3 separate regions of the Homo sapiens genome follow, and all the other regions are linked to region 3. The links are contacts of gene promoters, found by promoter capture Hi-C in blood cells and fetal thymus (Javierre and others, 2016). All regions are on one chromosome and are shown on one strand. The core of a region is centred on a gene start or on the middle of the fragment in contact, and the rest is flanking DNA. Distances in the headings are between cores, read along the strand shown. Region 1 has its middle 41 kb from the start of LTBP4. Region 2 has its middle 32 kb from the start of NUMBL. Region 3 holds the start of CCDC97 (coiled-coil domain containing 97).

Region 1 (3,097 bases), core at 81-2,580, 670 kb before region 3:
TGTTCAATCGGTGATAATTCCTCCAGCGGTTACACTTACGGTTTGTACTTTCCTGAATATGGGTCTACTTCAAGAAACCACTGCTGAAAACGAGGAGCTGCACCCACCACCCAGTGTCCCCTCCATCCAGTTTAAGCAACAGGACATTCTCAGCCCCCCGGGGTCCCTCCCTCCCAATGCAATGTGCTTTTATGTCTTCAAGGGGCCTGGCCACCACCTTGGTTGCTTCCCCCAGCTTGCTATGCATGTCACCCCACGCATGTTCCAGGCAGCTCCACAGAGGTCCCCAGAGAGAAGGCAGGCTGTGGGTGGGAGGAAGGGCAGGGGTGGGGGACGTGGCTTCCCAGCGGAGCCCGGGCAGGGGGAGGAAACATTTCTGCAACACCCCACACCAAGTCCTGACTTCGGGGGGGCTTTGCAGGGTGAATTCTAAGTGCCCAGGGCCCCATGTGAAGGGGTCAACTGTGTCTCACTCTGTGTCTGTCTCTCTGTCTGTCTCTCTTCCTGTTTCCTCCCTCCCTCCCAGTCTCTCTCTCCTCAAGAAGAAAAAAACTCACAACTATTTACATAACAATTTTATATCAGACTGTAACCCAAAAACCCAAGTTCCAACTTCGAATTTTTCAATAAACTTTGAATAAATAGTAGTGCTATTTTTCTTTCTTTTTTTTTTTAGTACTGTAATGTTTACTTTTAAATTTAATTTTTACTGGCAGACTTTACGTATATGAGGTTCAAGAAAAGAAAATCTCCACTGTTTACATTTCTTTTCTGACTATTAATATTGTTCATTTCATTTCCTGATTATTACTGGCAATAATTTTGTCCTATGGGGAAGGGAGGCGCTTGGCAGGCCTCGAGTTATCCTTTGAGACATGGGGGTCTGTGGTCAGATTTAGAAAGTGCTTGTGGGTGGCTGGGTGGGAGTGGGTCATGGGAGACATAAGGGCAGGCTGGAGTCCAGGGAGGAGGCCGGCCGGGCAGGGACCCAGGCAGCGGAGATGGACAGGGCCATGGAGAATCTGGGAGGCGCAGGCCCTGGGGACTGTGGATTGGGGAAGGAGATAATTTTATTTTATTATATTTTTTTGAGACAGAGTTTCAGTCTGTCTCCAAGACTGTAGTGCAATGGCACGATCTCTGCTCACTGCAACCTCTGCCTCCCGAGTTCAAGGGATTTTCCTGCCTCAGCCTCCCAAGTAGCTGGGATTACAGGCACGCACCCTCACACCCAGCTAATTTTTAATATTTTTGGTAGAGACGGGGTTTCACCATATTGGCCAGGCTGGTCTCATACTCCTGACCTCAAGCGATCCACCTGCCCCGGCCTCCCAAAGTGCTGGGATTACAGGCATGAGCCACGACGTCTGGCCTAATTTTTTGTATTTTTAGGAGAGACAGGGTTTTGCCATGTTGGCCAGGCTAGTCTTGAACTCCTGGCCTCAAGTGATCCGCACACCTCAACCTCCCAAAGTGCTGGGATTACAGGTGTGAGCCACTACGCCCCGCCAAGGGAAGGGGAGAATTTGAGTGCTATTGAAGGTAGAAAACACAGAACATAGGCTGGGTGTGGTGGCTCATATCTCTAATCCCAGCACTTTGGGAGGCCAAAGTGGGAGGCTGGCTTAATCCCAGGAGTTCGAGATCAGCCTGGGCAACATAGTGAGACCCCTGTCTCTACAAAAAATTAAAAATTAGCCAGGCATGGTGGCACCCACCTGTACTCCCAAGGCTACTTAGGAGGCTGAGGTGGGAGGATCGCTGGATCCCAGGAGATCTGAGGTGAGCCGTGATCATGCCACTGCACTCCAGCCTGGGCAGCAGAGTAAGACCCTGTCTCCAAAAATAAAAAATAATTTAAAATAAAGCGCGGAACACTGTCAGGTTGTCTGTGGGGGAGCAGCGGGCAGGCGACCAGGAGGGCTGGCTGCTCTGTGCAGGGCTAGTGCCTGGGTTGGGATGACTCGGCCTCAGAGCTGTAAATAAAGAAGGAAGAGGGCCGGGCGCGGTGGTTCACGCCTGTAATCCCAGCACTTTGGGAGGGCGAGGTGGACTAATCACCTGAGGTCGGGAGTTCGAGACAAGTCTGACCAACATAGAGAAATCCCATCTCTGCTAAAAATACAAAATTAGCCGGGTGTGGTGGCACATGCCTGTAATCCCAGCTACTCGGGAGGCTGAGGCAGGAGAATCGCTTGAACCCGGGAGGCAGAGATCACAGTAAGCCGAGATCACAACACTGCACTCTAGCCTGGGCAGCAAGAACAAAACTCCATCTCGAAAAAAAAAAAAAAAAAGTAGAAGAAAGAAAGAGCTGCCACAGTTGAGAGCTTCCTGGATGCCTTTGTTAACTCTTGGGGTTTTCACATACCCATCTTACAGATGGGGAAGCTGAGGCTCAGAGAGAGGAAGGCCCAAGTGGAAGAGCAAGCCTGGAGCCCAGGTCTCCTCCTGCCTAATCCTGGGCTTTTGCTGGTGGACTCCCGCCCAATCTTGAATAACTTCAGGCCTTAAACAACCTCCCACGATTGCTTTTCCTCCCATTAGAACAATAAATGCAGATACAAAAACCAACTATGCTTGTCTACAAAGCCCAAGAGAATTTTTGAAGTAATAAAACTGTCATGAATGCAGACTGTGGTGATTACATGACTTACGAATTTTTCAAAACTCAGAATCGAGCCAGATGAAATGATCCTGCCTGCAATCCCAGCACTTTGGGAGGCTATGGCAGGAGGATCATTTGAGGCCAGGAGTTCAAGACCAGCCTGGCCAACATGGTGAAACCCCGTCTCTACTAAAAATACAAAAATTAGCTGGGTGTGGAGGCACATGCCTGTAATCCCAGCTATTTCAGCAGCTAAGGCAAGAAAATTGTTTGAACCCGGAGGCTGAGGTTGCAGTGAGAAATGATCGTGCCACTGCACTGTAGACCCTGTCTCAAAAACCAAAACCAAAACCAAAAAAAGAAAAAAAAACCCTTAAGAATCAGGATTATACACGAGCACACGCACACTCACCCATAAATTTTACCATTTGTAGAAAAGAAGAAGAAAATTCAAAACCAAATACAATGAATGTACTTTCTCTGGATTCC
Region 2 (3,182 bases), core at 476-2,975, 650 kb before region 3:
TGCCACTCATGGACAATTCCTGCTTTCCTCTAAGGCAGATGCTTACCACACCCCTACCCCCACCCTTCTATTTAGAAAATTTCTAAACATGCAAAAGAATTGCAAGAAAAGTAGAAGATATAATAATATACTGTGGATATGGATTCACTAGGTTTTTGCAGTTTTTTGTTTGTTTTTGTTTTGAGACGGAGTCTTGCTCTGTCACCCAGGCTGGAGTGCAATGGTGCGATCTCAGTGCAAGCTCTGCCTCCCAGGTTCAAGCAATTCTCCCTGCTTCAACCTTCCAAGTAGCTGGGATTACAGGCACCCACCACCATGCCCAGCTAATTTTTGTATTTTTCAGTGGAGATAGGGTTTTGTTACGTTGGCCAGCTGGTCTTGACCTCCTGACCTCAGGTGATCCGCCTGCCTTGGCCTCCCAAAGTGCTGGATTACAGGCGTGAACCGTCACACCTGGCCTTTTGTGTTTTTGTTTTTGTTTTGGTTTGTGTGTGTGTGTTTGTTTGTTTGTTTTTGAGATGGGGTTTCACTCTGTTGCCCAGGCTGGAGTGCAGTGGTGTGATCACAGCTCACTACAGCCTCAACCTGCTAGGCTCAAGCGATCCTCCCTTCTAAGCCTCTTGAGTAGCTGAGACTGCAGGTGCCCACCACCACACCCAGCTAATTTTTGTATTTTTTGTAGAGACGGGTTTTCACCATGTTGCCCAGGCTGTTCTCAAACTCCTGGGCTCAAGTGATTCCCCCCACCTTGGCCTCCCAAAGTGCTTGGATTACAAACGTGAGCCACTGTGCTGGGCCTATTTCTTTGTGTTTTAAGAGGCAGGGTCTTTCTCTGTTGCCCAGGTGGAGTACGATGATTCGATCATAGCTCACTGCAGCCTCAAACTCCTAGGCACGGGAGACCCTCCTGCATCAGCCTCCCGAGTAGCCCAGACTACAGGTGTGTGCCACTATACCTAGCTAATGAAAAGAATTTTTTTGTAGACATGAGTTCTTGCTATGTTGTCTAGGCTGGTCTGGAACCTCCAGCCTCAGGCGATCCCCTTGCTTCAGTCTTCCAAAGCAGTGGGGTTACAGGCGTGAACCACCTGGCCTGGTCTCGCTCTTTCTCTTTCGACATCTACATTGATCTGTAGCTATCTACGTACTATAGATATCTAAAAGTTATGTAAATGTCTACTTAAGCTTATAGGTATGAGCTACTGTATGCTATCTAAGCTTATAGGTATGAGCTACAAATTGCTATTGTGTTATGAGGGGAATTCAAAAAGTTGATGGAGAATGGAATTAAGAGATAAAAATTTTAAAAAAATCTTTATTTCTCACCATAAACTCCATCAAGGTCAAAGTCAAGACACTTTTGTAAACCATTATACCAGCCATTTAGTCTATCCCTAAATAACTGAGGGTCCCAGGAATTTAATCATGTCAGTGCAGCCTTTTTACATTTTCTCTTTCTTTTTTTTTTTGATGGAATCTCACTCTGTTGCTCAGGCTGGAGTGCAGTGGTATGATCTCGGCTCACTGCAACCTCTGCCTCCCGGGTTCAAGCCATTCTCCTGCCTCAGCCTCCTGAGTAGCTGGGACTACAGGCATGTACCACCACATCTGGCTAATTTTTTTTTTTTTAGTAGAGACGAGGTTTTGCCAAGTTGGCCGGGCTGGTCTCAAACTCCTAACTTCAGGTGATCTGCCCGCCTCGGCCTCCCAAAGTGCTAGCATTACAGTTGTGAGCCACTGTGCCAGGCCTTTTTTTTTTGTTCTTGTTGCCCAGGCTGGAGTGCAGTGGCATGATCTCGGCTCACTGCAACCTCCACCTCCTGGGTTCAAGTGATTCTCCTGCCTCAGCCTCCCGACTAGCTGGGATTACAGTCATGAGCCACCACACCTGGCTAATTTTTGTATTTTTTTTTTTAGTAGAGACAGGGTTTTGCCATGTTGGTCAGGCTGGTCTTGAACTCCCAACCTCAGGTGATCCACCCTCCTTGGCCTCCCAAAATGCTAAGATTACAGGCGTGAGCCACTCCGCCCAGCCCAGTCTTTTTACATTCTTAACTGAAGAAAAATGGGTGCCCTTCAAAGATTTTAAGATTAGGAAACAAAAAGTCAGAAGGAGCCAAATTGGGACTGCCAAGTGGATGCCTAATAATTTCCCATCAAAACTTGTAAAATTGCTCGTTTGATGAGGAGAATGAGCAGAAGCGTAGACATGCTGGAGAAGAACTCTCTGGTGAAGCTTCCCAGGCTTATTTCTACTAAAGCTTCGGCTAACTTTCTCAAAACACTCTCATAATAAGCAGATCTTATTATTCTTTGACCCTACAGAAAGTCAACCAGCAAAATGCCTTGAGCATCCCCAAAAACTGTTGCTATGACCTTTGCTCTTGACCAGTGTGCTTCTGCCTTGACTGGATCACTTCCCCGCTCTTGGCAATCATTCTCTGATTACGATTTGTCTTTAGGATTGCACCCGTGAAACCATGTATCATTTCCCGTTACAATCCTTCAAGGAAATGCATTAGGATCTCGATCTCACTTGTTTAGCATGTCCATGGAAAGCTCTGCTCTTCTCTGCAGCTGATCTGGGTGCGACCGTTCTGGCACCCATCGAGTGGAAAGTTTGTTTAGCTTTAATTTCAGTCAGAATTGTGTAAGCTGAGGCCGGGTGAGGTGGCTCAAGCCTGTAATCCCAGCAGTTCGGGAGAATGAGGCAGGAGGATCACTTGTGTCCAGGAGTTCAAGACCAGCCTGGGAAACCTAATGAGACCCCCATCTCTACAAAAAATACGAAAATTTAGTGTCAGGCCTCTGAGCCCAAGCTAAGCCATCATATCGCCTGTGACCTGCACGTATACATCCAGGTGGCCTGAAGCAACTGAAGAGCCACAAAAGAAGTGAAAATAGCCTTAACTGATGACATTCCACCATTGTGATTTGTTTCTGCCCCACCCTAATGATCAATGTACTTTGTAATCTCCCCCACCCTTAAGAAGTTTCTTTGTAATTCTTCCCATCCTTGAGAATGAACTTTGTGAGATCCGCCCCCTGCCCGCAAAACATTGCTCCAAACTCCACCGCCTATCCCAAAACCTATAAGAATTAATCATAATCCCACCACCCTTTGCTGACTCTCTTTTTGGACTCAGCCTGCCTGCACCCAGGTGAAATAAACAGCCTTGTTG
Region 3 (3,125 bases), core at 385-2,884:
TAGTCTCAGAATCTCGGGTAGGGCATCAGAACGTGAGAAGGAACCAAGGTTGGTGGCTAAAAGGGACCCTAGAATGCGCCAGAGAGGAGGTGGCAGGGCCTTTAGTCTGGAAAGTCCCCTTCCCTTCATGTCCATATGCTGGGCTACAGCGCCCTCTGCTGGCCTCTCCTGGTAATGCCTAGGAATCTGGGTTGGTAAATAGGGACCTCCTTGGCTTTCTTCCACAACTCCAGACCTCAAGGGAATGCAAATGGGGAAGCTCTTCCTCTGTTCTCAGCCAGTTTTTCTCACACGTCTCATCTCCAGTCCCTTGATGCCCACTCCCTTCAGAATAAAGGAGGTCAAGCCACTTACTATGGCTTATGAGGCCCTGCATGGCCTAGCACCTGGTAACATCGCTGGCGCCCTCTCTTTCTGCTCCCCCTTTGAATATCAAATCAGTGTTTATTTTGTTCTGAGGAGCCATAAGTCCTTTTTGGAACCCACAAATGATGCCATGAACCACTGCATTGGAGAATACAGAGGTACATGGAATTTTGCATAAAAATTCATGAGGTTCTCAAAACCTCCACAGCCCAATCATGGCTTTCAAGTTAGAGCTCCTTTCCTATGCCCTGACCGTAGTGAAGTGCTTGCAGCAACCAGAACCGTCCGTACGTGCCATCCTCCTCAAGACTCTTCCCTACCTTCCTCTTAACCCAGCTCCTACTCGTTCTTCAGGTCTTAGCTTGAGGGTACCCTCCCAGAAAGAAGGCTTCCTTGACCCTCCAGCCTGGGGTGGACAGCTCCCTCAGCCCTCTGGATCCATCAAAGCCCTGGCCACTGAGTGACATGTCTGTCTACTCTGCTGGTAACACCTAAATAGAGCCCCACCCATCCCATAGGGAAATAAGGACCAGAGTTGTCTTGTTTCACACCTGTAGATTTCCTCCAGGTCCTGGGAACACAAAATGGGAAGTTCTATCTCACTATCCATCTCATGCCAGCCAGAGACAGGGTATGATGACGGAAGTAAGCCAGGCTGGTGGCTCACGCGCGTAATCCCAGCATTTTGAGAGGCTGAAGCGGGAGGATTGCTTGAGGCCAGGAGTTGGGGACTAGCCTGGGCAACAAAGTGGGACCCCTGGCTCTACAAAAAAATTTTAAAAATTAGCCGGGCGCGGTTGTGCGCGCCTGTAGTCCCAAGTACTCCAAAGGCTGAGGCAGGAGGATCACTTGAGCACAGGAATGTGAGGTTACTTGAACTGTGATCGCGCCACTGCATTCGTCTAGGCGACAAAGCGAGACCCTGTCTCAAAAAAAAAAAAAAAAAAAAGAGTCAAGGCTTAGTAATATTCCTGAATTCCTGAAGGAGTTAAGAAAGGAAAAGGACAAGCGGGGGTCTAAACGAGAGCACGAACCCTCAGCGTATGACGGCTCCAGGCTCCGGGGGAAAGTCCTTTAGCCATCCATCCCAAAATTAAGCACGCTGGGAGCTGGAGTCACAGCAGTGATAAAACGAACAATGATTCTGGTTCCTACTGACTGACAGGAGAGGTTTAAGGGTCTCTCACTCTCCGGGGAGCCCCTTTCCTTCCTGGCTGCGGAGGGCGGAGCCCGAGAGAGGCACGCATGCGCAATGCAACGTCTGCCTTAGGCCCGGAACTTCGGTGCCTGGGCGCAGCGGTGCACCCGGACCCGGAACATTCTCAGGCGAAAGTGTCTCTTGCGTGCGTGGGCCGGAGGTTAGTGTGCGGGGCCCGCCGGGCGGTTGAAAAGTCCGAGAGAATCAGGATGGAGGCCGTGGCGACGGCGACGGCGGCGAAGGAACCCGATAAGGGTGAGATCTTGGTCACGCGCAGGCGGCGGGTGGGTGCGGTTGCGGTGTCTCTAGGAAATGATTCCCCCAGGAACGCGAAGTAGGACTCGTTTTAGGGGGACACCCACCCCCCTCAGCTTTACCGGTCCTCTTCACTACTTTGCCCAGATTATTCCCTCCCTTGTCGCGGGCTGACCTTCTTTTCCTCCATTCCTTCCCCCCGAAATTAACCTCTTCCCAGTTCCAGACCAATCCTTTCCATGTCCCTAATTCATTTCCTTACCAGGCTAACTCTCAAATTAACAGAAACCTCTCTACCCCGGCCTAATTCCTGCATTGCCTCAGACCAGCCCTTCTCAAATTACCTCCTTCCCTGTACCAAGCTGAGCCTTCCCTTGCTCTCTAGACGAATCCTCCTACCTTTCCAGGCTAAACTTCTACCTGCCTCATGCAAACTTATCCCAATCTAACGATTCCTTCATTTCATTGTAACTCCCGTTTCCCCCAAAGTCCGAAATCCAGCCAGGCTCCTTTCAAAGTCCTTACTCAATTTCTGTGCTTTCCCACAACCTTCAAAGTAATCCGACGTCGGGTGAGGTGTGATTGGAAGCGTGGCTCCAACACCACTGGCCAAGAATTGGTAATTGTGGAAGCCAGATGGAGATGATTGGTATATGGAGGTAGGGGGAGAATTGTCGTTGTACTTTCTACTTTTGTGTATGTTTGAAATTTTCTAAAAATAAAAAATTTAACCTAAAAAAAGTCTTAAGGCCGGGTGCAGTGGCTCCCGCTTGTAATCCCAACACTTTGGGAGGCCAAGGCAGGAGAGTTGCTTGAGCCCAAGAGTTTGAGACCAGCCTGGGCAAGAGAGAGAAACCTGATCTCTATAAACATTTAAAAATTAGCCAGGCCTGGTGGCTAGGGAGTAGCTAGGACAAGCTACTCAGGAGACTAAGGTGGGAGTGTCACTCGAATCCTTTGAGATTGCAGTGACCTAAGATTATTACACCACTGCACTCCAGCCTCTGCAGCAGAGTGAGACTTGAGCCCAGGAGTTTGAGACCAGCACTGGCAACATAGCCAGACCCCATCTCTACAAAAAATTTAAAAATTAAGGCCGGGCCCGGTGGCTTACACCTGTAATCGCAGCACTTTGGAAGGCGGAGGCAGGAAGATCACCTCAGGTCAGGAGTTGGAGACCAGCCTAGCCAACATAGCGAAACCCCATCTCTACTAAAAATACAAATATTAGCCAGGCGTCGTGGTATGTGCCTGTAATCCCAGCTACTCGGGAGGCTGAGGCACCAACTGGAATCACTTGAACCCG

What was found. Contacts are between HindIII fragments. The CHiCAGO score rates a contact against its expected background, and 5 or more counts as called.
Region 1: a fragment that was not itself captured here is called in contact with the fragment with the promoter of CCDC97 in region 3 in 1 of 17 cell types (naive CD8 T cells); the score reaches 6.0 in naive CD8 T cells.
Region 2: a contact is called between a fragment that was not itself captured here and the fragment with the promoter of CCDC97 in region 3, in 7 of 17 cell types (naive CD4 T cells, total CD4 T cells, naive CD8 T cells and 4 more). The highest score is 10.1, in naive CD4 T cells.

The regions. Positions count from the first base shown.
Region 1 is chr19:40,640,567-40,643,663 of GRCh38, forward strand. No RefSeq gene overlaps it. Among named protein-coding and RNA genes, the nearest start is that of LTBP4, 41 kb to the left of the region's middle. The HindIII fragment of the contact is 6,260 bases long and covers 1-3,097 here.
Region 2 is chr19:40,657,175-40,660,356 of GRCh38, forward strand. No RefSeq gene overlaps it. Among named protein-coding and RNA genes, the nearest start is that of NUMBL, 32 kb to the right of the region's middle. The HindIII fragment of the contact is 1,018 bases long and covers 1,217-2,234 here.
Region 3 is chr19:41,308,538-41,311,662 of GRCh38, forward strand. CCDC97 (coiled-coil domain containing 97) reads left to right here and starts at 1,635. Exons shown (of 5, transcript NM_052848.3): 1 at 1,635-1,819. The coding sequence starts at 1,774. LOC105372401 (a long non-coding RNA gene) reads right to left here and starts at 1,512. Exons shown (of 2, transcript XR_935968.4): 1 at 1,401-1,512; 2 at 1-1,288. RefSeq lists enhancers at 228-407, 1,681-1,970. The HindIII fragment of the contact is 19,818 bases long and covers 1-3,125 here.